7 separate regions of the Homo sapiens genome follow, and regions 1, 2, 3, 4, 5 and 7 are each linked to region 6. The links are contacts of gene promoters, found by promoter capture Hi-C in blood cells and fetal thymus (Javierre and others, 2016). All regions are on one chromosome and are shown on one strand. The core of a region is centred on a gene start or on the middle of the fragment in contact, and the rest is flanking DNA. Distances in the headings are between cores, read along the strand shown. Region 1 overlaps ELF2 (E74 like ETS transcription factor 2). Region 2 overlaps SETD7 (SET domain containing 7, histone lysine methyltransferase). Region 3 overlaps ELF2 (E74 like ETS transcription factor 2). Region 4 overlaps SETD7 (SET domain containing 7, histone lysine methyltransferase). Region 5 overlaps ELF2 (E74 like ETS transcription factor 2). Region 6 holds the start of NAA15 (N-alpha-acetyltransferase 15, NatA auxiliary subunit). Region 7 holds the start of LOC124900188 (small nucleolar RNA ACA64).

Evidence for each region. The method cuts DNA at HindIII sites, captures the fragments that hold promoters and counts their contacts. A CHiCAGO score of 5 or more calls a contact.
Region 1: a contact is called between a fragment that was not itself captured here and the fragment with the promoter of NAA15 in region 6, in 2 of 17 cell types (monocytes and total CD4 T cells). The highest score is 7.8, in monocytes.
Region 2: a contact is called between a fragment that was not itself captured here and the fragment with the promoter of NAA15 in region 6, in 4 of 17 cell types (non-activated CD4 T cells, total CD4 T cells, naive CD4 T cells and 1 more). The highest score is 5.4, in non-activated CD4 T cells.
Region 3: a contact is called between a fragment that was not itself captured here and the fragment with the promoter of NAA15 in region 6, in 6 of 17 cell types (naive CD4 T cells, total CD4 T cells, monocytes and 3 more). The highest score is 6.7, in naive CD4 T cells.
Region 4: a fragment that was not itself captured here is called in contact with the fragment with the promoter of NAA15 in region 6 in 1 of 17 cell types (total CD4 T cells); the score reaches 5.4 in total CD4 T cells.
Region 5: a fragment that was not itself captured here is called in contact with the fragment with the promoter of NAA15 in region 6 in 17 of 17 cell types (total CD4 T cells, total CD8 T cells, naive CD4 T cells and 14 more); the score reaches 31.7 in total CD4 T cells.
Region 7: a fragment that was not itself captured here is called in contact with the fragment with the promoter of NAA15 in region 6 in 1 of 17 cell types (total CD4 T cells); the score reaches 5.8 in total CD4 T cells.

What each region holds. Positions count from the first base shown.
Region 1 is chr4:139,141,405-139,145,343 of GRCh38, forward strand. The region is part of intron 1 of ELF2 (E74 like ETS transcription factor 2); the gene reads right to left. Among named protein-coding and RNA genes, the nearest start is that of ELF2, 34 kb to the right of the region's middle. The HindIII fragment of the contact is 1,374 bases long and covers 1,987-3,360 here.
Region 2 is chr4:139,520,989-139,525,132 of GRCh38, forward strand. It overlaps SETD7 (SET domain containing 7, histone lysine methyltransferase), which reads right to left. Exons shown (of 8, transcript NM_030648.4): 5 at 2,366-2,447. Among named protein-coding and RNA genes, the nearest start is that of SETD7, 33 kb to the right of the region's middle. The HindIII fragment of the contact is 8,290 bases long and covers 1-4,144 here.
Region 3 is chr4:139,123,577-139,127,771 of GRCh38, forward strand. ELF2 (E74 like ETS transcription factor 2) reads right to left here. Exons shown (of 10, transcript NM_001331036.3): 4 at 1,588-1,753. Among named protein-coding and RNA genes, the nearest start is that of ELF2, 52 kb to the right of the region's middle. The HindIII fragment of the contact is 1,456 bases long and covers 1,536-2,991 here.
Region 4 is chr4:139,541,013-139,545,303 of GRCh38, forward strand. The region is part of intron 2 of SETD7 (SET domain containing 7, histone lysine methyltransferase); the gene reads right to left. Among named protein-coding and RNA genes, the nearest start is that of SETD7, 13 kb to the right of the region's middle. The HindIII fragment of the contact is 7,497 bases long and covers 1-4,291 here.
Region 5 is chr4:139,102,642-139,106,430 of GRCh38, forward strand. The region is part of intron 4 of ELF2 (E74 like ETS transcription factor 2); the gene reads right to left. Among named protein-coding and RNA genes, the nearest start is that of ELF2, 73 kb to the right of the region's middle. The HindIII fragment of the contact is 1,492 bases long and covers 838-2,329 here.
Region 6 is chr4:139,300,012-139,303,988 of GRCh38, forward strand. NAA15 (N-alpha-acetyltransferase 15, NatA auxiliary subunit) reads left to right here and starts at 1,494. Exons shown (of 20, transcript NM_057175.5): 1 at 1,494-1,820. The coding sequence starts at 1,767. It overlaps NDUFC1 (NADH:ubiquinone oxidoreductase subunit C1), which reads right to left and starts at 2,466. Exons shown (of 6, transcript NM_001184989.2): 1 at 2,405-2,466. RefSeq lists enhancers at 885-1,004, 1,485-1,544. The HindIII fragment of the contact is 1,328 bases long and covers 1,059-2,386 here.
Region 7 is chr4:139,433,495-139,437,396 of GRCh38, forward strand. LOC124900188 (small nucleolar RNA ACA64) reads right to left here and starts at 3,000; the gene lies at 2,874-3,000. The HindIII fragment of the contact is 4,158 bases long and covers 383-3,902 here.

The DNA.
Region 1 (3,939 bases), core at 1,424-3,923, 160 kb before region 6:
ATATATAAAGCCTACAGGTCCAAGCTCTGGTCACATGACTGCAAACAGCTGCTCCTTGGCCATCCCTTAAACACAGGGGATCCCATATGTGTTGTACAGTCAAGAGAGGAAAGAATCAGAGAAGACAGTTGTGAAGGGACACATGGGCAGGAAATTCTAGGATCAAATATTCAAAGACTGATCTAGAAAGAGACCAGGTAGACTAGTCTAGTCACCTTGGCCCCCCACAAAGTCTTCACTCTATGGGTAGGGTTGTAGCTGCTGGAGGAAGGCCATATGAGGACCTTTAAAGCACAGGTCTTTTGTTGCCAGTTGGTGAAGTCTTAGGACAGTGCTGCTCTCTGGTCAACCCTTACAGGCGGGTGTTTCCAGGATCCCATCCCTAGTCCTTTTCTCTTCAGATTCTTTACACTCTTTCTAAGCTATGAAATCTACTCCTACAGCTTCACTCAACTCTCTCTTCCAGATTTGTCTACTAGATGTTTTATTGCCTCTACTTCATTGAAATTAGATAAGGTATACATAAATACTAAGCACTGATGCCAGGATAACCCAAGCACTCCATTCATTAATTCAATCACACAAACACTAAATGAGCACTATTATATGATAGCACAATTTTAGGTGCCCGGGTCCAGTAGTGAATAAAGGCAAAGTCCCTGTTTTTATGGATCTTACACTGCAGAGGAGAGAGAAAAAAATAAAATAGTACACCATACCTGTAGATGGTGATGAAGGCTAAGGAGTTAAATTAACCAAAGAGATAGGGATTATTTGGCAGGGAGAGCTGCCAATTCAGATTGAGTGGTCAGATAAGGACTCACTAAAAAAGTGACATATGAGTAAAAACCCAAAAGTAGAAGTGAGTTGTGGCAATGCCTGGCACAAGAGCCTTCTAGTCAAAAGAAATTCAACACCCTCAAGAGGATGTATGCCTGACTAGTTAAAGGACCGGCAAGGGGACCCAATACAGCTGAAGTGAAGTGAGCAAGAGGAAGAAAGAATAGTTGAAGAAGAGGACAGAAAGGTAAGGGAAGGGAGCCAAGTAGGTCCCCTGTAAGGACTTTGACTTCAGAGAGAAGAAAGGTTTTACACAAAAAGATGATCTGATTATTATAAGGATCATTCAGATGCTGGGTTGAGAACAGACAAGGGGACAACAGCAGAAACGGGGGTCAGTTAGCAGGCTGCAATAATATATGTTGTGCAAAAGTAATTGCAGTTTTGCCATTACTTTTAATGTAATGCAAACTACTTTTGCACAAACCCATAATGAGATGAGAAGTGATACAGGCTGGGACCAGAGTGGTAGTTCTGGAGGTAGTGAAAAAGTGATCATAGCCAAGCATGATGGCACACCCCTTTGTCCCAGCTACTCGGGACGCTGGGCAGGTTGAAGCTGCAGTGATCCAAGATCTCTCTACTGCACTCCAGTTTGGGCGACAGAGTGAGACCTTGTCTCAAAAAAAAAAAAAAGTGATCAATCTTTAGATGTATTTTGCAGATAAAAGGATGACATTTGCAAGCAAAATTGATGTGGATTGACTGCTATGAGAGAAAGAAAGAAGTCAAGAATGAATCCAGGCTGGAGGATTCTCAGATGATGGAGTAGGATGCACCAGGAATCTGTATCCCTATCTAGACAATTGCACTGGCAGAATCTACCTAATGTAACTATTTTGGAACCCTGGCTAAAGGCTTACAACCTCCAAGGGAAGGCTTGAACAATAAACTGTGGTTAATTTCGGTCATTCTAGCTCTCAGCACAGTATCAGCTACCACCCATCCCCCAACTCGAGGGTAGACAGCTGTGCATGTGTTCCTGGAACAGTCTGCATGCAACTTGTGAGGGCCATGGTAAGCAAAAAGGACTATTTTCCAAATATCAGAGATCTGTGCTCTGATCACTGATTATTGCTTCTGATCACAGAGGAGCACACAAAGAAATGAGTAGATATTATTGTTATGCCTCCCTTCACTGTTGCAAGCTTCTCCCCCTCTGGCTGAAGTCACTTCTAGGGGACTTAAAAGGCCAGCAAACCCCATTTTACTCTTTTTCCCCTTTTGAGAGCCACACATTAAAGACCAGGACATTTGGCTGGGCACAGTGGCTCACATCTGTAATCCCTGCACTTTGGGAGGCCAAGGTGGGCCAAGATCACTTGAGGTTAGGAGTTCAAGGCCAGCCTGGCCAACACAGTGAAACCCCGTCTCTACTAAAAATACAAAAAATAGCCCAGCGTGGTGGCAGGCGCCTGTAATCCCAGTTACTCGGGAGGCTGAGGCAGGAGCTCGAGCTCGGGAGGCGGAGGTTGCAGTGAGCCAAGATCGAGCCACTGCAATCCAGCCCGGGCAACAGAGCAAGACTCTGCCTCAAAATAAAAAATAAACTAAAATAAAGACTAGAACATTCAAAAACTATATATATGAAAAAATGTGGAAAGTGACCACACATGCCCAGGCTCAGAAAAGACCTGAGAAGACCTTAAATACACCTTAGCCTGATCCTTGCCACAAAATCAGCCTACAAAAATTTAAATTTTAATTAAAAAAAAAATTCCCACCCTCCTCAAGATGGCAGATTGGAGGTAGTATTGGCATGCCTCTTCCACTTGGAAAGAAAAAATAGTGGGTAAAGACTCAAACTGTGAACTTTTTTCAAAGAAGCAATGCAGGAACTTAATGGAAAAACGGAAACCACAGATCCTTTGAAAGAAGGGGCAGGCTGCAGTCTACACCATGAGCCAGGTAAAAAACTGTAAGTCCCCAGAGTGTGAGAGGGAGAGAGATTACCTCCAGAGTATACACCCCCACTATGAAAACTAGAAATCCGGCCCACAGAGGAAGGCCTTAACCCCACCCAGTGCTAAAACTAATATAGGGAGCAGTGGAGAATATACAAGAAGCACCAGGGGCGGGAAGAGCCTTGTGCGTATTCCCGGTCTCCAACGCAAACCAAGGGAAGCTATTCCTGATTCTGTGTCACAGGAGAGTTCACAAAGTTCTGCCAACCAACTGAGGCAGTGGTTGCAGGTTGAAAGAAGCTCCCAATTTGAAATTCAAAATATAATCTCAAGTGGGGATGAACTGCCTTGGCTGAACTGGGCGGATGACTGGGAAGTAAGCTGTAACCACAGACACAGAAGTTGGGTGCTCTGGCATTGCCAGTGGATGAAAAGGGGCGTGGCCTGAAAGCTGAGGTTCCTGTATGTAAACAGCTTGGAATTTAGCTAGCTGCTGCTAGTGAACACTCTGAGTGAGAGACTTGCCTTGCCAAGTGTGTAGGAGCTGGATGAGACTTACTCCCACCTGCTACTCCCCACTCCCTGCATGAACTCTTCTGTGAAGCAGAGGCAGCTAAGCTTTTTCCTGGAACATTACCCCAGTGGCCAGGGAATGGCTCCAAAAGCCCAACATGGATCTGTGCTTACACCACACATGCAGAGCCAAAGAGCAGGCCTGCCTGACCAAGCCCCCCACCTGGCTTTGACCCTCCACCTGCCCTGGTAGGTTAACACAAAAGACAGAAACTTTGGGGAGCCCTATGGCCTCACCCATCATCTGATAAACCAAAATACCTCCCATGGGTAACATAAGACAAGCACATATCCCACCACTTCAACCACAGCTGGCACTCTTTTGCAAGCACCACCTCCTGGCTGGAGGCCAACAGACACAGTTTACTACAGCAACTACAGGTAAAATAACATTGCACCCAAGAAGGAGAAAACTTATGCATGACCCAGTTATCAGCACTGTCTGCAGTACCCTGGCTAACCAGGATGTCCTGAGTCTGTCCACATGACCAGTTTATTAATACTACAACCAGCATTTAAGAAAGCCAACGCACTACGGCTATTTACAACCAAGGAATCTCACAACGTATGTCATTCCCCTGTTACCCCTATGAGAGCTGGTGCTGGTACACATTGCTGGGAG
Region 2 (4,144 bases), core at 1,561-4,060, 220 kb after region 6:
CCATTTGCTTAGTATTGCCTATGACTGCTTTAGCTCTACAAAGGCAGAATTGAGTAGTTGCAACAGATATTATATGGCTTGCAAAGCCTAAAATATTTACTATGTGGCCCTTTACAGAAAAAGTTTGCCAACCACTGGTTTATAAGAAAACAGCTGGTCGGGCGTGGTAGCTGATGCCTGTAATGCCAGCACTTTGGGAGGCTGAGGCGGGTGGATTACCTGAGGTCAGGAGTTCAAGAGCACCCTGGCCAACATGGTGAAACCCCGTCTCTACTAAAAATACAAAAAATAGCTGGGTGTGGTGGCGGGTGCCTGTAATCCCAGTTACTCGGGAGGCTGAGGCAGGAGAATCACTTGAACCCAGGCGGTGGAGATTGCAGTGAGCTGAAATTGCACCATTGCACTCCAGTCTGGACGACAAGAGCAAGACTCTGTCTTAAAAAAAAAAAAGAAAAAAGCGCTCATAATTACGGAACTGGATTTAACCAGACGCTGGGATGGAATGACCCTACAGGAACTGATCATCTGTAATTTTAGTTACATGGCTCTTATGCTTATTCATGAACTGGAAGACTGATTTATTGCTTTCAACTCTTTATTTCTTCGCTGTGATAGAATTATATACATCCTGCCACTTTGCCACGTGACCTTGTAGTGCCTCCCTCAGGGTGGGTGGAGGATACATCCTGCCCTACTGACTTCTCGTTTGGCCATCTGATCTGCTTTGCTGGTAGAACATGGGCAGAAGTGGCTGCAGGCAAGTCTCAGGTGTGAAGGGCTGGGGCAAATTTCTGCTGGCCTCCTCCAGACTTTTCACTGTCTCCATTAGAAGAATATGCCCTAGGGGGCTGTTGCTCCCTGTTTCTCTTGTAAAGAAAACATGTGAAACAGACTTGAACCCAACTTGAAACCTGGAGTCCAGCCTAGGCCAGCTGAGCTTAGCTGATTCCAGTCAGAAGTGGCTGAACCTCAGCCAACCTATAGAACTATGGTGTAAAACAAAATGTTTGATTCTGTAAACCACTGAAAGTTCTGAGGGCATCATTATGCAGCCTCATCACAACAATAATAACAGAAAAGACTAACACGTATGGCTATGGTCTTGTGTTTCGGAGCTAACAAAGAAGCTAAACCCTTCCCTTTGTAACTGGGCCAGAGCCTCATGTCAAAAAAGAGTCCATTCATCATTGTGACATTGTGGGGTCAGCCCTGTCAGTTGAATGGAGGAAGAGGCCTATTTCTCAGATGGGAACAGAAACTGAATGGGAGGTAAGCCATGCTTACAAAACACGAGGCAAAGAGAAAACCAATTTCAGATAGTACGCTTATTCATAAACAGATCTGTTGCTAAGGAATAAGAAGAATCCCAGAGAGGGTACCAGAAAAAGCCACATCAAGACTCAAGAGCTAGAGTTTAGCCATCCTCATAAATAAGACATGAAGTAGAACAGGATGTGACCCTCTGGGAGTGGGCTTACAAACCAGAAACTTGTCATTTATAAGCTAGAATGTTTTTATGCCTCTTATACTTTCTTTGTTTCACTCTTGTCTTCTGTTTGTGAAAAAAGAAATTGTCTTGTGTTCCAGAACACCTCCGCTGGTCTAAGATGAAATGGAGGCATCCTGTGTGCACAGGCTAGAGCTTTAAAGAGCATGAAATGTTCCCCTAGAGGGCCAGCATGTGACTGCAGCACAGACCCTAAGAACGGGAATGCTCGGCCAGGACACAGCTGGCTGCCTGGCCCAGCTGCTCTTTTTTTTTTTTTTTTTTTTTTTTTCTTTTTAGATGGAGTCTTGCTCTGTTGCTCAGGCTGGAGTGCAGTGGCATGATCTCGGCTCACTGTAACCTCTGCCTCCCAGGTTGAAGCAATTCTTGTGCCTCAGCCTCCCGAGTAGCTGGGATTACAGGTATACGCCATGACACCCAGCTAATTTTTGTATTTTTAGTAGAGATGGGGTTTCACCATGTTGGCCAGGCTGGTCTTGAACTCCTGACCTCAAGTGATCCGCCCGCCTTGGCCTCCCAAAATGCTGGGACTGCAGGCATGAGCCACCATGCCTGGCCTCAACTGCTCTTTCTACCTGGAGGTTTTACTCTAGGACAGACACACAAGCTGTTCTGTGATTTATGGGTGAGGAAACTCTCTTACAGGGTCAGATTCTACATAAGAATAAAAACACTCTTCCTCAGAATATAGAAATATTTATTTGAGGGTTGGCAAAGGAAAAGGACACTTTCATGAGGAGCTTGGTCTGAGCTGGAACCCAGCCTGGGCAGAGAGCCAAAGAGGTGCATAAGTTCCTACCACTAGGCTTATTTAACCTCACATAAACAGTGCAATTAAAACCCCAAGGAGGAAATTACCTTTCTGATTCATAAGGATCTGGAAGAAGAGCATTGGTAGAAATGCAAGATGAAGTCGACTTATCAAAGTGGTACACTGAATCTGAAAAGCAAACAAAAATACCAGTATAGGTGCAGAGTTAGGGAAGAGCATTTATAACACTTCTCTCTATTCATGGGACAACGAAGAGTTAAAAAACCAAAAATCTTAATCAAGTTATACCAACTAGAATGAAGTTCTTCAATTTAAATGGATACATTTTAGATTTACGCTTCAGTTTTATTTTCAGGCCTTCATGAACAGCCATCAGATGCATCTCTTAACATTCCAATTCACTCTTGAATTTTCCTTATTAAAATGACTTAAAGGATGCTTGGGAATCAATAAAATGCTTTGTCATGAAATTCTGAGATCTCTTGGCTCAGATCAAATTGGATGATGGTTTTAAATTTTTCTGGTGGTTTTCTTCATTACAGATACAGTCTACAGAATCCAACAACTGAACACTGGCAGTTGTCTCCTTCACTAAGAATAAAATTCTGCCTCACCAGAATTAAGGAGAACAGCACTGCTTTTGATAAAGCATTAACAAAGTAATCTCCTTTCTATTACGGTAGTTCAGAAGCCAATTAGTAATTTACTCTAGAAATCAAGGCACACAACCACCCTAGAAGGAACACTGGCTCTCTGTGAAGGATTAGCTTTAGAGAATCCTCACAGACAGCACTAAAGATAGATGCTCTGAAGACTGATAGGTAAAGAAACAAGATTTAGAATCAGAGGGCTTACTCCTGCAAAACAAATGATTATATACACTGAGGGAAAACTCATAATCCCATTAAGCAATTCTTCAGTAGTTACTAATGGTTACTAGGTCCTCTTTCTGTTTGTTTGTGAGTGGCTTTTTTTGTACAACCAAAACCCCAATGAATACCTGAAACTAAAAGTCAGAAACCAATCCAAATCAGTCAGTGTCCGCACAGAAACGGACCATTTGAGTGTTTCAAAAAGAATTCAGTTCAGGGAATTGGTCATACAGGGGATGGAATGCTGACAAGCCAGATGGAGCCGTGAAGAGCCCAGACACTGGCAAGAGCAGGAAGCTGCCACTGGAGGCCGGAGGGACAGAGGGCACAGTGCTGCTCCTGGAGCTCTGGAGCTGGGGTAGTTGGAACTAGCCTGGGCCTTCCTCATGGGAGATGGAATCAGGAGGTGATGGGGCCACTGCTGGAGATGCTGGTTGACACAGAGAGGGCTTCTTCCTGCTGCCTTCTCCTGCTTTGTCCCCAGCCAGCCAGTGGCCTCCCTTTGGCCAAACTCAGACAGAAGTCAGACACACAGGAGCCTGAAAAATGCAGGCTGCAAGGGGCAGCAGCCTCTTGCAATAATAGCGGGCAGTGAAAGAATGATGAATGGATTGGATCTGAGAGCAAAGTGGTAACAGACCACCAAGCAATCCACGAAAAGCATTTAAACCACCCTCCCCCACTTTTTTTTTCTTTTGAGACAGTCTTGCTCTGTCACTCAGGCTGGAGAGCAATGGCGTGATCTCAGCTCACTGCAACCTCTGCCTCCCGGGTTCAAGCGATTCTCCTGCCTCAGCCTCCCAAGCAGCTGGGATTACAGGTGCCTGTCACCATGCCTGGCTAATTTTTGTATTTTCAGTAGAGATGGGGTTTCGCCCTGTTGGCCAGGCTGGTCTTGAACTCCTGACCTCTAGTGATCCACCTGGCTCAGCCTCCCAAAGTGCGGGTATTACAGGCGTGAGCTGCTGTGCCCAGCCGTCACTTTTTATAAAT
Region 3 (4,195 bases), core at 1,014-3,513, 180 kb before region 6:
CAATCTGCTCTGGTATTTTAATGTGATAAACATCCTAATTTACTAACTTATGCAAATTTGGTGCTATAGTTTTTATCTTTTTTAAAGTTTCCAACTTGCTATCAAAATCATAGTTTTCCTTATTTTTTGACCAAAACACCATCCAGAAATTTCAAACAGGTTCTACTTTTTTCCATTCAACTTAAGCTACCATACTTTTTTCTTCTGCTATTAGTGTTCTGTTTAGTTATGCTCTTGTAATAAAATCAGTTACAATATATAATCCAAAACATCATCCTACAAAATACTTTTAACTGTTCTACCTATCCTTTTCCTCAAGAAGAAAATTCAACTCTGCCACTATACTTCTAGCTTCAGACTGGAAAATTCTCCAAACTCTCATAAAAAGATATGCACTATATACTGTAAATCAGATACCACTCCAGACTACAGTCACGAAGCCCATATGAAGTCCTTGGATGCCTGGTTTTTTGTTTATTTGTTTAGAAATGGGGTCTTGCTATGTTGCCCAGGCTGAACTTGAGCTCCTGACCTTGAGCGAGCCACCTGCCCCAGTCTCCCAAGTAGCTGGGAGTACAGATGCACACCACCACACCCAGCTTGGCTGCCTATTTTGATAAATGAATTTTCCATTATACCTGAGGTTTGCTAGCACTGCAATCATCAGTGCTCTGAAAAGCAAGGTAACTTTCAATCCCTTAGCTCCACAAAAAATAAAATTAGAGGAAGAACAGTTTTATGCTGGAAGAGGCTAGTAGCCCTAAGGGGTACTACTGGACCTCATAAGAAGAAATACATCACATACTCAAAATTTTAATCATGAAAGTTTCCTACATTTATAAAAATGTATCAAAATAGTAAAGAATTTTTACTAGGATTAAACAACAAGTATAATGATTCTTTTTCTCCATTAACAGCTAAAGATGATACATTTGCATGTTTATTATTATGTAAGAGTCACTACAATCCTTCTGATAAAATACTCTATTTTCTTCATAATCAATGGCAAAAACTAAAAGATTTCTCTAAGAATTATAGATACTAATCTCCAATTAAACATATAGCTATCTCACCAGAAATAGACTGAAATACTAAGATCTCTAAGACGACAAAAAGCAAAGAGGAAACTGATAGAACACTACAATGATGCTTCTGATATTAATGAAAAGAAATCTTATTGCTCCATCAATATTAACTCAAAGAAACTCATAATCAATTAGACAATGATAGAATACCATTTTTTTTAATTTAAAAAGCTGTCCTCATAATACTAGCCTATTGACTTGTATAAATAACAGCTAGGATTTATACTCTCAGAAAAAAAATAATAAAATAACTTTATCATTATGTGAAGCTGTAATTTTGTGCATAGAGTCCATGATATGAGACTGTTACACCTCATAGAATTATACAATAGAAGTTTTATATCTACACAAATTCCCTTAAACATAGATGTTTCACTGGTTTCCAAGCTATACTAAATAGCATTAAAAAGGTTTTTCAGTATATTTTTCATCTGGCAATAGTATTGTTGAAGCTTACAAAATGAGAAAGTTATAAATAATGAACATTTTATGAGATGTCTACCTGTTTCCACATTCTCGGTCTCAACTTCTTGTTCTTCTGCCACATCTTGCATCATATAAGTCTCATCATCATAAACCAGAACCTGGGCTGCATAGCCCTGCTCTAATCTGGCACTTGGAACTGGCTCCACAATCACTGCTGGATATTCAGAAACCTTTTCACTTTCCTATAAGAGCAAATTTAAAGAACAATCAACCTTTGTATTTACAAATTCTGAATTCACTTATAAATCCTTGAACTAATACAGTCTCGAGCAGTCCACATAATGAGTTTCAAATATTATAAATATGAATGTAAAAGCCAAAACAAGAGATGAAAAGGGCTAACTTTAATAATCCTTTCAAGTCTCAAGAGGTAAGACATAGATTAAACATTTTAAATAATCTGTGCTTTAGGATTAAGTTGGCAGATTAAAAACATGCATATAATTTCACTTAATTATGAAAGCTGACTAAAACAACAGTAAAAGACTCTTTTATACCTAAACCCACAAGGACAAGAGGTGAGAGCAACAAACAAGAAGAGGTAAGAACAACAAAATCCTGGAAGACTGAAAGTGTCTGGATGAGTATGGAGTGGGTTAGCAGACCCAGCAAAGCCAAATCAGTCTGGCAGCAAAAAAAAAAAAAAAAAAAAAATCTGAGAAACAACACACTGTACAGTGTAGAGAATCTACAGAAAGCAACACCAATTACATGCACTTTTGATTCCTAGACCTTCTCTCTCCTTCATGATGCTAAGCAACCAGACCTCCTCCACCTCAGCAGAAGACAGGTTACTTTCCAGAGAGGAACAACAATAGCATCTTTGAGGCATAATAGGCACAGTTGTTAGCATCATACTCTACCCAAAATGGAGTGTCCAACTAGCTTTTTAGTCCATCACTTTTAGTCATGAACAAAAAGCCAAATATTCATATTCCACACACAGAGAAGATATTATAAAGTAAGAACAGATCACAATTCAGTAAAGAACATTTTAAAATACAAGTAAAAGAATTTTTGGAAATTAAAGATACAATAGCTGAAATGAATACAGGCTTGGAAGATAAAATTGAGGCAATCTCCAGGAACCAGAGGAAAAAAGATAAAGCAATAGAAAACAGGAGAGAAAAGATGGCAATATTAGATGACCAACCAGTCCAGGAGGTCCACTATCTGAATAACAGAGTTCCAAAAAAATAAATCATAAGGAAAAAACAAGAAATAGAAAGGAAAAAAAAAAAAGGTTTGGAAAGAAATCAACAAGAAAGAAGTAAATCAATAAAATTTTCTAAGACTGAAGGATATAAGCCACCCATTTGAAAGGACCCACCAAGTGTCTAGTACAAAAAATTAAGGAACACATACATTGAGGCATATCACTGTGAAATATCATAATATTGGGAACAGAAAAGATTCTACAAGCTTCTAGAAAGAAAACACAGGTTACTACAAAGAATCAGGACACAGACTTCAGTCTTCTCAACAGTCATACTAGAAGGAAGATGACAGTTGAGCAATTTCTTCAAAATTATGAAGAAAAATTACTTCCAATCTAGGATTCTTCACCCAGTCAAATCATCTTATAGAAGTAGAATAAAGGTATCTTCTCAGACATGAAAGATCTCAAACATTTACCTTTCATGTTTCCTTTCTCAAGAAGATACTGGAGAATGTATCCCATCAATAAGAGAGAGTGAATTTTTTAAAAAAGAGAACTATTGCAAATACAGGATAGAAGAGATCAACATAGGAGAGAAACAATGGGAATCTTCAGGAAGACTGTGAAGAGAGATTCCACGATGCTAGCTATGCACCAGATTTAAAGGGCAACCAGTCCAAAATATAGCAGTGTGACTCCTGAGATAGCATGATGAACTGTCATTACTACGATAACCATTGACCTTGTTCCTAAGGACAGAATGTCCAGATCAGTCTGTTCTAGATTTTTATTGACATTTGGCTTACCTTCATGTACCTACTCACTCCACCTGCCCTGCTGCCTGGATCAGCTAAGAACACATTTCACCCCCCAGATGTGTTCTGCTTTGATCTACTATGTGTTGGAGGAAGATTACCATGGGCTTAAAATAAAAGATACAGAACAGCGTTCTTCATGTGACCATATACCTCCTGAACAAATATGCAATACCCAGCCCATACCATACTGTAGCACTGCCAGATACCAGAGCAGGATGTGCCTTACATTTCTAAAAACTCATGGCATTGCTCACTGACTACTTGAAGACAAGCTCATGACACTCAGTGAACCTGACTATTCAGCTATCTTCTCCTGGAAGCCTTCATCTATCTATGATAATATTGCCCTTTCCTAACTCAATTAGCTTGGTAAACTATTTTTTCAAAATAAAATATTGTTTAGGACTATTTTCATAGGTGGCAAAACTATAAAGAAAAGTAAAGAAATTATAATACATAAGTCAAAACAATAGCACCTCTGGAAACAGCGCCCAGCCGGGTTTTAATATTTCAGTGATTCCTTCTCTTTGACCATAAAAAAGCTAAAATCATTTTGCATTAAAAAATTCAGGGTTCATGCCTGTAATCCCAGCACTTTTGGAGGCTGAGGTGGGCAGATCACCTGAGGTCAGGTGTTCGAGACCAAC
Region 4 (4,291 bases), core at 1,308-3,807, 240 kb after region 6:
TACACGGAGCCCTTTTGGCAAATGTAGCCAAGCAACATCAGAAAAGGACTTGGGCACAGGAGAAAGAAGCCGTGGAGTAGTAAATCCTTTAAAATCAAATTGGCATGTGAAGGAGAGGCATCAACAATATAAACAAATAAAGCTGAATGAATGACCTCATCTCCACCTCATAATTAGGCTAAAAACCACATGACCCTAATATTCCATAGCCCCCGCAAAGCCAATCTGAAGAAATATCTCCTTCTTGTTCACCATTCTAGGATTGTGAAAAGTCTTGCCTTTAGGTTCATAAATCATGGTCAAAATAGAACAATTAAAGAAAGATACATGAAAATAAACATCCAGAATCTAGGATTAGTATAAAAATTAGAGATGTGTGTATCAAAGTATTTTGAACACTACACGTTTTCATCACACCCCATGGTACTCCAGCAAATCCACGGGTACCAGACAGACTCCAGATCCACACCAACAAAGCCTCAAGATTCCTGTCACCACGCTGCATCAATTCCTTTATCTCGGGACCGAGTGGATGTAAAGAAGTCCCAGTTACTGAATCTCAGGATAATTTCTTCTTCCCTTTTAATAGAGGAGGCGGGAATGGACACAATATCTACTTTAAAAACAATTTTTAAAATAAGGTTATGTTCTCATTCATTCCTTATTTGTAGGGCAAACCATCTGGTAAAGCATGAGTATTCTGATTTTAGGTTTCTGACTTAATAAGCTGGTTGTAGTAACTTAGCTTTTCTCTTCCACATTTTGTCATATAATGAAGAAAAGACTAAATATTATGATCTCAAAACTAGCAAACATTTTGAATCTGAGACAGTTGTGAACAGGTAAACAATGTACATTTTTGCTATTTAAACTGATTTAGAAATAGATAGCTATTTCTTCCATATGCTGAAGAGGTATGTGCACTCCCATGTTTATTGCACTATTCACAACAGCCAAGATATGAAATCAACCCAAGTTTCCATTAACAGATGAATGAATAAAGAAAATGTGGTATATACGTACACAATGGTATACTATTCAGCATAAAAACAAAACGAAATCCTGTCATTTGTGACAATATGAATGATCCTAGAGGACATCATGTAAAGTGAAATAAGCCAAGCACAAAAGGACAAATACCGCATGATCTCATTTGTATGTGGGGAATCTGAAAAAGCTGATCTTACAGAAGTAGAGAACAGAACAGTGGTTAACAGAGGCTGGGGAGTAGAAGGCAGGAGGGAAGGATGGGGAGAGGTTGGTCAACAGGTACAAAGTTACAGTTAGATAGCAAGAATAAGTTCTGGTGTTCTATTACATAACAGGGTGACTACAGTCAACAGTAATATATTGTATACTTCAAAATAGCTAGAAGAAGGGATTTTGAATGTTCTCACCAGAAAGAAATGATGAATCTTTGAGGTGATGGATATGCTAATTACCCTGATTGATCATTACACAATGTGTTTATGTATCAAAATCACACTTTACCCCAGAAAAATGTAGAATTATGTGTCAATTAAAATAAAACTTTAAAAATGCCTATTTCTATATTTTACCTTGAATATGTTTAGTTAAGATGTGCAAATTCTCTGCCAATAGTAATTACTTCTATGGCATGGGTTGGGGTTAAAAAAAAGCGGGGGGGAGCACTTTCACATTTCTGAATTTCTTGAAGTTTTGTTTTATTCCACTAAGCATTTGTTATGTTTGCAATTTAAAAATAAAATAAAATATTCTGCTTCTATTTACAAATTTGGTTTTAAAATTTCACAGGGCTATTTTTCCTAGTTATCTGGATATTTGAAATTCTTATTCAGATTTATCTCATTCGATGTCAAGGGAAACACTGATTCTATAATTTTCTTGATATGTTTATATTTGTTTGGATACTTCTCATAAATCATATTCTGGGGTTCAGTTTTCATATAAAATTAGAATATTTAGGCCAAGTCTTCCATTACTACACTGTGATTTTCCTTGTCTCTTTCCTTGTCGGAACATGGGTTCCCACAATTTCAGACAAACTCTTTGATGGGGACACAAATCAGCATAACAGGTTTCAACAACTTTCTTCAATACAAAGTTTTTGTCTCCTCGCTTGTTATTCAAAACCTAATGCCAGCCTTTCTTAAGGAATTTTTCCAGACCAAAGGTTGATGACTGACAATAAAGGCAAAGCATTCCCACTTAATTTTACCCAACACATCAAGCTCTAAAAGCCGGGGATGGGAACAGGGAGAAAAAGTAATAGACAAATATAAATAAAAACTGCTTCATGTAGAAACAACTGACTTATCCATAATCAAATCCCACATCTGCCTTAGAAAACCCTGGTAGATTCTCGACCTTTTATTCAGTTGTAAGACTCTCTTACTAATTTTTACAGCAAATCCTTTTAGCAGATGTCTCGTAACATGATCAGTATTTGGGTTTAAGAAGATGAGGACGACCTTTTGAGATCCTGTCACCACACTGTTCCATCATGTGTAATAAAACCAATGATACTGACATTTTCCCCTTAAGATATTAACTCCCGTCTATCTGAAGATAACCAAGATAATCTCTTGAGGTCCTCGCTAACACTATTTTTCCTTGATTCTATTTAATCAACATCTCCACTGGTGTTTGAGTGGTAGATATAAAAATTAGTGAATTGGGTGGGCGTAGTGGCTCACACCCGTAATCCCAGCACTTTGGAAGGCCAAGGCGGGCGGATCACGAGGTCAGGAGATCAAGACCATCCTGGCTAACAAGGTGAAACCCCGTCTCTACTAAAAAAATACAAAAAAAAAAAAAAAATTAGCCGGGCGTGGTGGTGGGCGCCTGTAGTCCCAGCTACTCAGGAGGCTGAGGCAGGAGAATGGTGTGAACCCAGGAGGCGGAGCTTGCAGTGAGCCGAGATCGCGCCGCTGCACTCCAGCCTGGGAGACAGAGCAAGACTCCATCTCAAACAAACAAACAAACAAACAAACAAAAATTAGTGAATTGGTTAGGCTGGGCACAATGGCTCACGCCTGTAACCCCAGCACTTGAGAGGCTGAGGCGGGTGGATCACTTGAGCTCAGGAGTTTGAGACCAGCCTGGGCAACATGGCAAAACTCCATCTCTATAAAAAATACAAAACAAATTAGCCTGGTGTGGTGGCATGCACCTGTAGTCACAGCTACTCAGGAAGCTGAGGTGGGAGGATCACCCGAGTCCAGGGAGGTTGAAGCTGCAGTGAGCTGTGATCATGGCACTGCACTCCAGCCTGGGCAACGGAGTGAGAACCCATCTAAAATAAAATAAAATAAAATAAAATAAAATAAAATAAAATAAAAAGAATGGTGAATTCGTGCCTCAAAAGGAAAAAAAAAATCAATGAATGTATTTCTAGCCTATAGATAGTTACTGGGCTAGTGCTGCCACTTGGCCTGGTGCTTCAGCTTGTTCATATCGTGACACACCTGCAAATTAATGCATTTGTCTGACACACTGGGGTAAGCGGATGAAGCTGTTTGGGGCTAGAAGTTACTAGCTGGATATGAGAAGACAGGTGCCCAGGAAGTCTCAGGCCCCACTTTGCTATCTTACCCTAGGGCTGAGGGGATCAGCATCTTGAAGCTAACAAGTAGCTCATTCTCGGCACACTGGTTCAGAATTTTAGTCTAGCCCATCAGTACTCTGTGTATCAGCCCCATAAAGCAAGCAGGTAACCAACACCAAATTCAAACAAATCTGCTGGACTGTTTTCCCAGAGTCAATCAGTTACTGGCTATCATCATCAAACTACCAGATTTAAAGTGTGTGTGTGTGTGTGTGTGTGTGTGTGTGTTTGTGTGTGGAGGGGGAGGCGGAGGGGGTGTTCTGGGTGAATTCTACCCTCTCTTTCAGCTCCCACTCTCACTTAGCAAGGACTTCTTTTTAGTATCAAATTAAGAGAAAGTGCTATGAAGCATAAAAGATGTAATAGACACAGATTCTGCCCTCAAGGAAACCTCTGTCCTTGGAGATGAAGGAGACATTTACATAAATATGTACTTGTTGAACGAATAAAAAAATTTGCAGAATAAGGTTAAAAGTGACACTTTTCAGAAAAAAGAGCTATAAAAAAATTGCAGTGGAAATGGGGCAGGAAAAGTTTCCCTCTGGATAGGTTAAAAGAGTCATAGGAAAGAAAAGCAGTGATACCAACTTTTTTTTTTTGAAACAGGGTCTTGCTCTGTCACCCAGGCTGGAGTGCTCAAGCAATCTTCCTGCCTCAGCTCCCCAGCAGCTGGGACCACAGTTCCCAAGGTCTCTACACCTC
Region 5 (3,789 bases), core at 334-2,833, 200 kb before region 6:
ACCAGCCTGGCCGAGATGGTGAAACCCCATCTCTACTAAAAATAAAAAAATTAGCCAGGCGTGGTGGCGGGCACCTGTAATCCCAGCTACTCGGGAGGCTGAGGCAGCAGAATTGCTTGAACCCAGGAGGCGGAGGTTGCAGTGAGCTGAGATCATGCCACTGCACTCCAGCCTGGGCGACAGAGCAAGACTCCATCTCCAAAAAAAAGAAGTATCTTTTTGCTAACTAGATCGGAGACATAAATGTTTTTTTTTTTCCCCCCTGAGACAGGGTCTCGCTCTGTCAGAATGCAGTGTCAGGATCACAGCTCACTGCAGCCTTGACCTACCAAGTGCAAGCAATCTGCCCACCTCAGCCTCCAAGTGGCTGGGACTTCAGGCACCTGCCACTATGCCCGACTAATTTTTGTATTTTTTGTACAGATGGGGTTTTGCCATATTGCCCAGGCTAACCTTTTCTTTTTGATGTAAAACTTTCTCATGATCTTTTGCAAGTTCATCTACTGATAAGAAAATCTCCCAAGTTCTAGCTGTGATATTGTGAAATATGTGTGAAATATATATATTTAGTCTTGCTCCCCATTTCCTGGCATACAAGTCCTAAAATCCTTGGAATCTCCAAAGTAGTAAGTGTTCTTTTGTGTGCTAAAGATTGAGTAATGGCTGGCAGCCCCTAGGTATCTTCAGGATGGGGGCTAGTCACCAGAAAGACCAAGGCAGGATTATAGGGTTGGGACTTTCAGCCCCACTCCCAACCTCTGGGCCTCGGGAAACAGGGCTGAAGGTTAAGTCAACCACCAATAGCCAATGACTTAATCAATCATGCCTACTTAATCAAGCTTCCATAAAAACCCAAAACGAATGAGTTCAGAGACTTTCCTGATAGCTGAACATGTGGAGGTTCCTGGAGTGTGGCATGCCCAGCAAGGGCATGGGACCTCCATGACCCTTCCCCAATACTTCACGCCCTATGCATTTCTTCATCTGTATCCTTTAAATATCCTTTATGATAAACTGGTAAATGTGTTTCTCAGAGGATCTGATGCTATCTCCAAGTAGACAGTGTCAGAACTGAATTGAATTAGAGGACACCCAGCTGGTGTCCACTACAGAACTGACTGACTAGTTTATTGGTCGGGAGAAATCCCACACACTTCATGGTAATCAGATGTCCCAGAGGTCTTCTGTGTTAACTGTTGAGAGCATAGTGAGACAAAGAGTTTGCTTTTCTACTCACTAACAAATAATTGTTTAAAGATATTCTTAAGTCCTGAAAAATAATTGCATATTATCACCACCCAGTTTAATATAAAACATATGAAAAGTATTTTAGTTAAATAAAAAAAGTAATTGCTCATTCCCTTCAAGTAGTGTATATATTTTGGCATATTTACAAAGTGAAAAGAAATCAAACACCCAATTATGACCAAACACTGACTTTAAACCAGGAGAAAACAGCATAGGACTTCTTTCATTTAAAAACAAAAACAAACAACAACAAAAAACTGTTATTCTAATGAAAATAAAGGCTATAAAGCTACATTTGTCTCTTGATATACTCAATGAAAAAAATATACAGGAATGTTGGCTGGGCACGGTGGCTCATGCCTGTAATCCCAGCATTTTGGGAGGCCGAGGTGGGCAGATCACTTGAGGTCAGGAGTTCGAGACCACCCTGGTCAACATGGTGAAACCCTGTCTCTATTAAAAACACAAAAATTAGCCAGGCGTGGTGGTGCCCACCTGTAGTCCCAGCTACTCAGGAGGCTGAGGCAGGAGAATAACTTGAGCCCGAAAGGCGAGGTTGCCGTGAGCTGAGATCGTGCCACTGCACCCCAGCCTGGAAGACACAGTGAGACTCTGTCTCAAAAAAAAAAAAAAAAAAAGAAAAGAAAAGAAAAAATATAGGAATGTAAAAAATTTAAAAAGTCATAGTTAGTCCTACTTCACCTCCTAATTCCACTCCCAAATCATAACCAATTACTGCAAACAGGCTGAGTTCTTAGCATTGTTCCCTGATTTTTCCATCAATGAGGACAGGAAAATCTTTCTGATTTTTTATGGTATTGTTACACACATAAAAAATTAAAAATAATGAGATTTAGGAATACTTAATTCCATTTGACTTGTTCCTCTGCCTCTAACCAGAGGCCTTCACTGTCAACTCTCATGATGACATTTAAATGGGACCTACCACAATAGCAATAATGTAATCTGGAACATTTGAATTCACTACCATACTTGGCAATTCTTTCCCTCACCTTTCCCCAACCCTATCTACTCTATAATACTATTATTTGCCTGAATGCTCATTTTTCGCAACTTAGTAAGCTTCTTTGAGGCTAGAAAGCATGTGTTATTCAACAACGAATTGTTCACTTTCTAGGAGCCATGGCAGTAATATAGGTAATGTGTACATGATAAATGTTAAGATTACCAATTAACTATCTCAATTGTACCTAATAACTGTCATATGGAAAGGGAGAGGAAAAAAACTATCCACTGCTTTAACTGCTTGAAAAGAATAATTCATGAGTTTATTATTTTAGCTTAATTCCATATATTTACTTTAAAGAACAATTTCAAGTTATATAATTTGATTTGTGACAAAGTAATTTTACTGTAGTGCAAACTTACATGTTTTGTCCACTAGATTCTAAGTACCATAAATGTAGAGACTTTGCCTTTCTTGTCTACATTGTAGCCCCGTGCCTTAAAATAATGCCTTGCATTTACTAGGTGCTCAATGAATGCTTAATGATGAATAGTAATGATGTGTTACACTATTTCATACACCTGAAAGGACTTTACCATCCTTTTACTCCCCAAAACAATTTTTTATGATGGGTATAATATAGTAAGAAACTACAGAGTTAACTGAATTTTAACAATGGCAGAAACTCCCTTTCTGTGCTGTCATTTCCAACACTCTAGGGATAATGATTGTCAAAAAATGATCCTGGCCAGGCACTGTGGCTCATGCCTGTAATCTCAGCACTTTGGGAGGCCAATGTGGGAGGATCACTTGAGGCCAGGAGTTTGAGACCACCCTGGGCAACATACAGAGATTCCATCCCTACCAAAAAAGAAATGATAAAAAAATTGCTGAGTGTGGTGGCTCACACCTGTAGTCCCAGCTACTTGGGAGGCTGAGGTGGGAGGACTGCTTAATCCCAGGAGTTCAAGGTAGCAGTGAGGTATAATGACACCACTGCACTCCATCTTGGGCAACAGAGTAAAACCCTGCCTCAAAATAATAACGATCCCTGGCCAACAGCAGCCTTATCACCTAGGGACTTGTTAGAAATGCAAATTCTCCAGTTCTACCACAGATCCACTGAATCAGAAGTCCTGGGGATGGGTCCAACAATCTGTATTTTAACAAGCCCTTCTGATAATTCTTATGTATGCTTAAGTTTAAGAACCATTGGCCATGGAAATTTTTGTCATGGAGATAGAAGGGATCTTAAACCAACAAAGAGGTCATTAAAATATTTAATAAACATTTAAAGAAATATATTAAATGTTCAGCCAAAGAAATTAAATTCTCACTCCATTAACGAATATGAAAAATTACCACTACATGACTGAGAGGCTTTTTTTCCTTTAAAAAAAGAATACAGCAGGGATCATAAAACTGTACTTAAAATGTGACATATTTAAACTGGCTTTCAGATCCCTAGTATGGATTATTAGAGAAAAGAGAATGGAAGTAGGGCAGAACATAGAGGAAGAAAGGATGATGAAAAAAAAGGTAGATGACAGTTAAAATAATACATGGGTGAGACC
Region 6 (3,977 bases), core at 244-2,743:
GACTATTTTTTCTGTCTTTCAATAGTTCAGACAGTTGAAAGATCTCTTGGGGCAGTGAATTTTGCAGGTTATTACTAAGTAACAGCTTAAAAATGAATTATAAGCTTGTTCTTAGTTTTATAAAGTTAAGGTTAAAATACTGGCCATATTTCAAACTGAAACATAGTTTCCTGTATATATGATTTTTCTCAAACTTTTGAAGAGAGATCACAGAATTTAAGGAAACTCCAGGATTTGACTGTTAAAAACCTTATTTATGACCCCGGTGAAGGGCGAGGACAATCAATATAGCAGCTACAAAACCCAAGTTTATATTGGGAAACATGTATCTCAACTCACACCTTTCAGGGACAGTTAAGAGAAGTTTGAAAATTAAAATATCTTTGCAAATAAATTTAAAACAGTAAAAAACACGCACATATTGTTTAATAATTCATGATGCAAAGAATGCTACAGAGTGAAATCAGGATTTGGAAAGAGGTAATCAAAAACCAAAGGTTAAAAGTGGCTCATATAACTTGAAAATTTTTAGATCAATGGAATGCCACTTTGAAAAAGTTTTACGGTCAGCTGTTAATGAAATGACTTACATTTTTGGAAGGACTCCTATTCGGTATGTAGTCTGACCTCGCCTACTCGAGTAGTTCCCTCTAGTATCCTTGCCAGTCTTTGGCTTCTAAGATCTGAGAATTTCTGGGGATGGGGAGTTCGAGTCACAATATTAAGAACTAGTTTGAAGCCAGCTCCAGGGTAGTCTGTCTTTAAGTCTCCACTACTCCGCTCCAAGGTGACTCATAAGGTCGGTCCGTCAACTCTGCATTATATGGCCTCAACAACGAAATTAAAACACATACTTTAACCTCCAGAGCCTCCTTTGGCAGTGCAAATATGTCACTTCGGATCTGACTAACTACCTTTCCAGGCTGATCTTAAGCAACATTCACCAAATTACCGATACGACAGCCAGGCCCATTTCATCGGTCAAGCTCTTTCACGATTTCCAGACTCTGTTAAGCCCCTTTCTCCCCAGGGCTGTTAACAAGTCTCCACTGCGGTGAAGCTTTTTTCATTTTCCACTCCGCCTCTGCTCCTTAAATTAGGCATTTCGTCCATAATCAACTACAGCGCTTCTCAAACACCTACACCTGTATTTTAGCACTTTGGGCTCAAACGATGATCACACAGTGTGCGAGACTCTTTCCAAGGAATGAAAGGTCGATCTAGCAGGAAGGCGCCAGAGAGGCTGTTTTTGATGAGGAGGCGGTCTGAACCGTACTTGCCTAGCCTCCCGTAGCTCCGCGGGCGCTTCGAGGGTACCACGCACTGAAATGATGGGCGGGGCCTGCCCCGACCCTCCCGGCCTCCACAGGCAGGCCAGCCTCCAGGTTTCCCGGCAAGCTCCGAAACCCAGAGGAGGTGGGGAAAGGAGGTCACCGCGCCTGCGTGTTAGGAAGCGTGACCCGGGTGGGAAAACCCTCCGCGTCCGCCATTTTGGCTGCCTCTGTCGGTCTGTTCAGTTACCACGTGAACCGCCGACGGAGACCCGTAGTGGGGGAGGCGGCGGCAGCGTTAAGTGAGAAAGGAAAAAAGACAACGAGGAAAAAGGAGGTGTCCGGGTAGGGCAACGCGGCGACACCCGAGGCCTGGTGGTGGCGGCGGATCGAGATATTCAAGGCTGAAGCAGCTACGGAACGGCAGCGGCGGCGGTCGGACAAACTGACTGACCGAGCCGGGTGGTGGCGGGAGCAGCGGGAGCAGCCGGAACGATGCCGGCCGTGAGCCTCCCGCCCAAGGAGAATGCGCTCTTCAAGCGGATCTTGGTAAGTGTGAGGCTCCGGGCAAGCGGTGGGGAGGATTTAGCCGGTAACCGGGCCTGTCACCCCTAACCTCGGCCCGGCGGGCACTGAGCCACTCCCGCCCGGGACCCCGCCTTCATAGCTCTCGTCAGGCCGAATGCATTGCTTTGCTCCCTCTCTGTGGTTCCTACTATGGCCCGCGCGCCAGGGACCACAGGCTTCTTCATTCCATCCCCACGCTTGAGGCCCTGGTTCCGGACTAGGCCCCGACCTCCCGGCTTCTAGACTGCCGGTTCTCATTCTCCCCGATCTGGGGGAGAAGAGGCCCGGCCTTTGGCGGGCAAGTGGGCGACACCGGCAGGAGTCGCGGCCCGGTTGGTGTGGGAACCCTGCTGGCAGGTCGGGGTGGCACCCTTGGAAGGAACAGGTGGTGCGGATGCAGCAGGCTCATTCATTGCCTAAACGCGGTTCTCCCTCCATCATCTGTCCCTCCCTCTTCCTCCTCTCTTGGGATTCACCTGTCTCCGCCCGGCCCGGGGTCACCCAATGACCTGAGAGGAGGGAAAGAAGGAGTTCAGAGAAGGAAAGAAAGCTTTTCAAACGACTACCTCCTTGTAGTCAGTTGCATACTGGAGTCTTCAGCTCCTCTGCCTCCGTTGTTCTCGTTTCTGGAGTAGGGATGAGGCATTTATTTCTTAGTTTCCGAGCGGGAAACAGCCCCACCCCGTCACTCTTCTCGGGAGGTGGGGCCCATTGCGAGGGGGCGGTTCGGTAGGAAGTAAAAAGTTGAGTCTTTAGTTGAAACGTTGCAGACCTAGACTTTTCTTATACACTGAAGTATATTAACACATGCAAAAACTTACCAGAGAAATGAGAATATAAGAACTTTTGAGATGGATTTTGTTGACGCTAGCTCAGACTTATTCCCTACGGTTCAAATGTGTGCAGTTTGTATTTTTTTAAACCATAAATGCATTGATGTTTGCAGGGACTGTTTACATTGTAAAATATGTCCTGTAGCCTTGGAGCTATAATTAACACATTGTAGCACATTTTTTGTTTGGCATTTAGTATGTGGGTTCCCCCTTTCACGCAAACGTTTCCTTATGATAGAATTAACTGTATTTGCCAAATTTAAGACTTTTAAAATTTGGGATGTGTGTGTGAAAGTGTTAGCCTTTTCCCCCGCAGTTATAATTTATTTCACCTGTTTGAAAAGTAGAACAACTCTGGGGATTCAGTTTTTCTAGAAATGAATAATCATCCATTTGAACTAACTTTGATTTTACAAAAGTGTCCATATGCCCTACAGATTTAGTGAATTCATTTTGAAAAACATTAGAAAGTCACATGCAGTGTCGCAAAACTGTTACCTTGAAATTCTTACTGGAATTTTGTTTTGTTTTAAGACTAAGAGTGTAGGTGGAGCTGTAAAATAGTTTTAGGAAAAAAGTTACTTTTAAACCCTTAAAAAGACTAATTGGTGTGCAGGTAGAACTGTAACATAAGTTTAGAATAGCAATTTATCTTTAATCTCTTTTTCACAATTCTTTATTTTGAAAAAAATGAAACTGAAAAGTTGAGAGAACAAGGAACACTCATAAACCTTTACTTATATTTATTTGCCATATATGCTTTCTCTCTCCCTATGTATATGTATATATACATTTGTATAAAAGTAAGTTGTAGATGTAAAATTTATCTCTAGGCTGGGCACGGTGTCTCATGCCTGTAATCCCAGCACTTTGGGAGGCTGAGGCAGATGGATCACTTGAGGTCAGGAGTTCGAGACCAGGCTGGCCAACGTAGTGAAATCCTGTCTCTACTGAAAATACAAAAATTAGTCAGGCATGGTGGTGTTCGCCTGTAGTCCCAGCTACTAGGGTGGCTGAGGCACAAGAATCGCTTGAACCCGGGAGGTGGAGGTTGCAGTTCCAGCCTTGGCAACAGAGGAAGACTGTCTCAAAACAAAAACAAAAAACTTCATCTCTAAATACTTAAGCAAGCATCTCCTAAGAATAAGGACATCGTCTTGTATACTTATAACAATCATTCTCTAATATTGTCTAATATCTGGTTCATATGGAGATTTTCTCAAGTGTTAGCACTTTTTTTTGTTTGTTTGTTTGAGACGGAGTCTCGCTCTGTCGCCCAGGCTGGAATGCAGTGGCGCGATCTCGG
Region 7 (3,902 bases), core at 1,212-3,711, 130 kb after region 6:
CAGGTGCGGTGGCTCAGGCCTGTAATCCGAGCACTTTGGGAGGCCGAGGCAGGTGGATCATGAGGTCAGGAGTTCAAGACCAGCCTGGCCAAGATGGTGAAATCCCATCTCTACTAAAAATACAAATATTAGCTGGGCATGGTGGTGGGCACTTGTAATCCCAGCTACTCGGGAGGCTGAGGCAGAGAATTGCTTGAACCTGGGAGGCGGAGGTTGCAGTGAGCCAAGATTGCGCCACTGCACTCCAGCCTGGGTGACAGAGCCAGACTCTGTCTCCAAAAAAAAAAAAAAAAAAGAACTTTCTAGGAGATGCAGTCCTTGTGGCCTAGACCGTCTTTCAGGTTTATTTAGGACTGTAGGGCATGTTAGCCCATGGTGGCAAAGCTTGCTGAAACTCATGTTCTGACCTCTGGGATGGGCAAATTCCCTCTGGCTAGGGCTGGTCTAAATGCTCCCTCTGAGGATGCTGGCTGAGTTCTGCCCAGTGTTGCTCTCAACTGCAACATGGGAGCACTAAATTCCAACACAGTCCCACAATCACTGCGATCTCCCTCCTTCAACTGTAGAGTCTCTCTGTGTGCCACGTGGCCACTGCTGGGGGCTGGGGAAGGGGAGGTGTTAGCAATTTAAGACTGTCTTTCCTACCCTCCTCAGTGTCTCTTTCAGTCATATGAAGTTAAAACCAGGTACTATGAGTGCTCACCTGATTTTTGGTTCTTATGAAGGTGCTTTTTAATATAGATAGTGGTTAAATTTGGTGTCCCTGTCAGGAGACACCTCCACAATTGGTGGAGGCTTCTATTTAGCTGTCTTGCTCTGCCTCCTCCATTTTGTTGTTGTTGTTGTTGTTTTTTTAGACAGACTCGCACCCCGGTTGGAGTGCAGTGACACAAAAATGGCTCACTGCAGCCTTGACCTCTGGGACTCAAGTGGTTCTCCCACCGCAGCCTCCTGAGTAGCTGGGACTACATGTGTGCACCATCGTGCTCAGCTCATTTGTGTTTTTAATTTTTTTGTAGAGATGATGTCTTACTATGTTGCCCAAGCTGGTCTCAATGTCCTGGGCTTAAGGGATCCTCTGGCCTCAGCCTCCCAAAAGTACTGGGATTATAGGCATGACCTGTTATTGTTTATGAACTGTGTGCTCTTTACAATTTTCTCTTTGCAAGCATTTACTCTTTGATTTAACTCACCATTACTACAACCACTTGTCACTCATAGATTTGCCAGAGATTAGGTAAATATTTTACTTGTTTCTATTAATCTTTTTTTAAATGTACATGTAGCTTGCATTTATTTCAATGTTTAAAACTGGAGATGTTTTGGGTCTTTCTTTAGAACTTTGATGATGTTTATAAAACATCTGTAGGAACTTAATTCTTGTTTATATAAATTAGCCTTTTTTTTTTTTTTTGAGACAGAGTCTTCCTCTGTTGGCTAGGCTAGAGCACAATGGCTCAACCTCAGCTCACCGTAATCTCTACCTCCCGGATTCAAGTGATCCTTCCACCTCAGCCTCCCAAGTAGCTAGGACTACAGGCTTTTTTTTTTGTTTTTGGTAGAGACGAGGCTCACTCTATTGCCCAGGCTGGTCTTGAACTCCTGAGCTCAAGTGAACCTCCCATCTCAGCCTCCCAAAGTGCTGGGATTACAGGTGTGAGGCAGTGTGCCTGGCAAGCCTATGGCAAAACTGGCTTCCTGATGTATCATTTGCTTAAAGTCACAGTTTCCAAGTACCTATCAACATTAAGTGATGACTTAAACTGTATAATCCTTTAACTATACTGCTGAATTCTGTTTGCAAGTACCTTTCTGAGGATTTTTGCATCAGTCTTCATAAGGGATACTGGTCTGTAGTTTTCCTGTAGTACCTTTACTGGCTTTGGTATTAGGTTAATGCTGGCCTCATAGAACGTGTTAAGGGTATGCCCTCATCTTCAATTTTTGGGAAGTCTGAAATGATTGATACAGTTCTTCTTTAAATGCTTGGTAGAATTAATCAGTGAAGCCATCAGGTTTAGGGCTTTTCTTTGACAGGAGATGTTTGATTACTGATTGAATCTCTTTAGTAGTTACAAATCTACTCATATTTTTTATTTCTTCATGGTTTAGCCTGGTAGGTTTAGTGTTTCTAGGAATTTCTCCATTTCACTTGGGTTATCCAATTTCTTGGCAGACAATTGCTGACAGTATTCCCCTATAACTCTTTTCATTTCTGTAGAAATGGTAGTAATGTCTTCATTTTCATTTCTGACTTGTCTCCTTTGTTATAAGTAGATCTAGCTAGAGATTTGCAAAGTTTTTTGATTTTTGAATAACCAACTTTTGGTTTCATTTTGATTTTTCTATATTATTTTTCTAGTCTCTATTTCATTTATATCTATTCTAATCTTTACTACTTCCTTTCTACTGCTAGCTCTGGGTTTAGTTTGCTCTTCCTTTTCAGTTCCTTAAATTGGAAAGTCCGGTTGGTGATTTGATATTTTTCTTATTTTTTAAATAATTTTTAATTTTGCTTTCTTCAGACCAGACTCTTATTTTTTAATGTAAGAATTTATAGCTAGAAACTTCCCCCTTGGCACTGCTTTTGTTGTGTCTCATAAGTTTTGGTATGCTGTGTTTTCATTTTCACTTGTCTTTATAAGTATTTTATTATTTGTCTTGTGGTTTCTTTTTTTTTTTTTTTTTTTAGACAAACAGCTTTATTTGAAAGACGGAGGACAGCCGAGTCCCCCCGACCCCGTGGTCCTGGCGACATCGGTCTCACGTGTGGGAAGACCAGTGTCCTGTGGAGAGAAAACAGGGTTAGGGGTCGGCAGCCTGGGTCAGGAGCCAGACCACGCGAGCGGCCGCACCCAGGGAGAGGCCGCGGGGCCTGTTGGGGCTGGGTTTCACCGCCGCACATGTGTCAGCGTGCGGTGAGCTGAGGCCCCTGGAGGCTCTGGGCGCCGAATCTCACCCGCTGCCATGGCCAAAGCCGGGGGGTGATTTTCAACCAATGCCGGGTGGTTTCTTTTTTGATCTAATGGTTAAGAGTGTGTTAATTTCTATGATTTTTAAATTTTCCAGTTTTCTTTTTGTTTTTGATTTCTAAGTTCATCCCATTGTGGTCAGGGAAGATATTTTGCTGTCTTTTAAAATCAATTCAGACTTAATTTATGACCTATCTTGGAATTTATCCTATGTATACTTGAGAAGAATGTGTATTTCATTGTTGGGTAGAGTGTTCTGTATATGGTTGTTAGATCTAGTTGGTTTATTGTGTTGTGAAAGTCCTATATTTCCTTGCTTAGATTTTGATGGTTCTATCCACTACTGAGATTGGGATATTAAAGTCTCCAACTATTAATGTAGAATTGTACTTCTCCCTTCAATTACGTCAATTTTTGTTTCATATATGTTGATGGTTTGTCATTAGGAGCATACATGTTTACAACTGTTAAACCTTCTTGCTGTATTGAACCTTTTATGTTTTTTATTTTTTTAAGACAGGATCATGCTCTGTCGCCCAGGCTGAAGTGCAGTGGTGTGATCATAGCTCACTGCAGCCTCCAGTGCTTTGGCTCAAGCTATCCTTCTGCCTCAGCCTCCTGAGTAGCTGAGACTACAGGCACATGCTACCATGCTCAGCTAATTTTTTAATTTTCTGTAGAGACAGCGTTTCACTGTGTTGCCCAGGCTGTCTCCAACTCCTGGTCTCAAGGCACCCTCATACCTTGGTCTCCCAAAGTGCTGCGATTACATGCCTGAGCCAACGTGCTCATCCTGAACCGTTTTTTAGTATATAATGTCCTTCTTTGTCTTTAGTAATCTTTTTTGCTTTGAAGTGTATTTTGTTGTATACTAGTATCGCCATCCTTAATATTTGGTAATTAGTTTCATGGAATATCCTTTCCCATTCT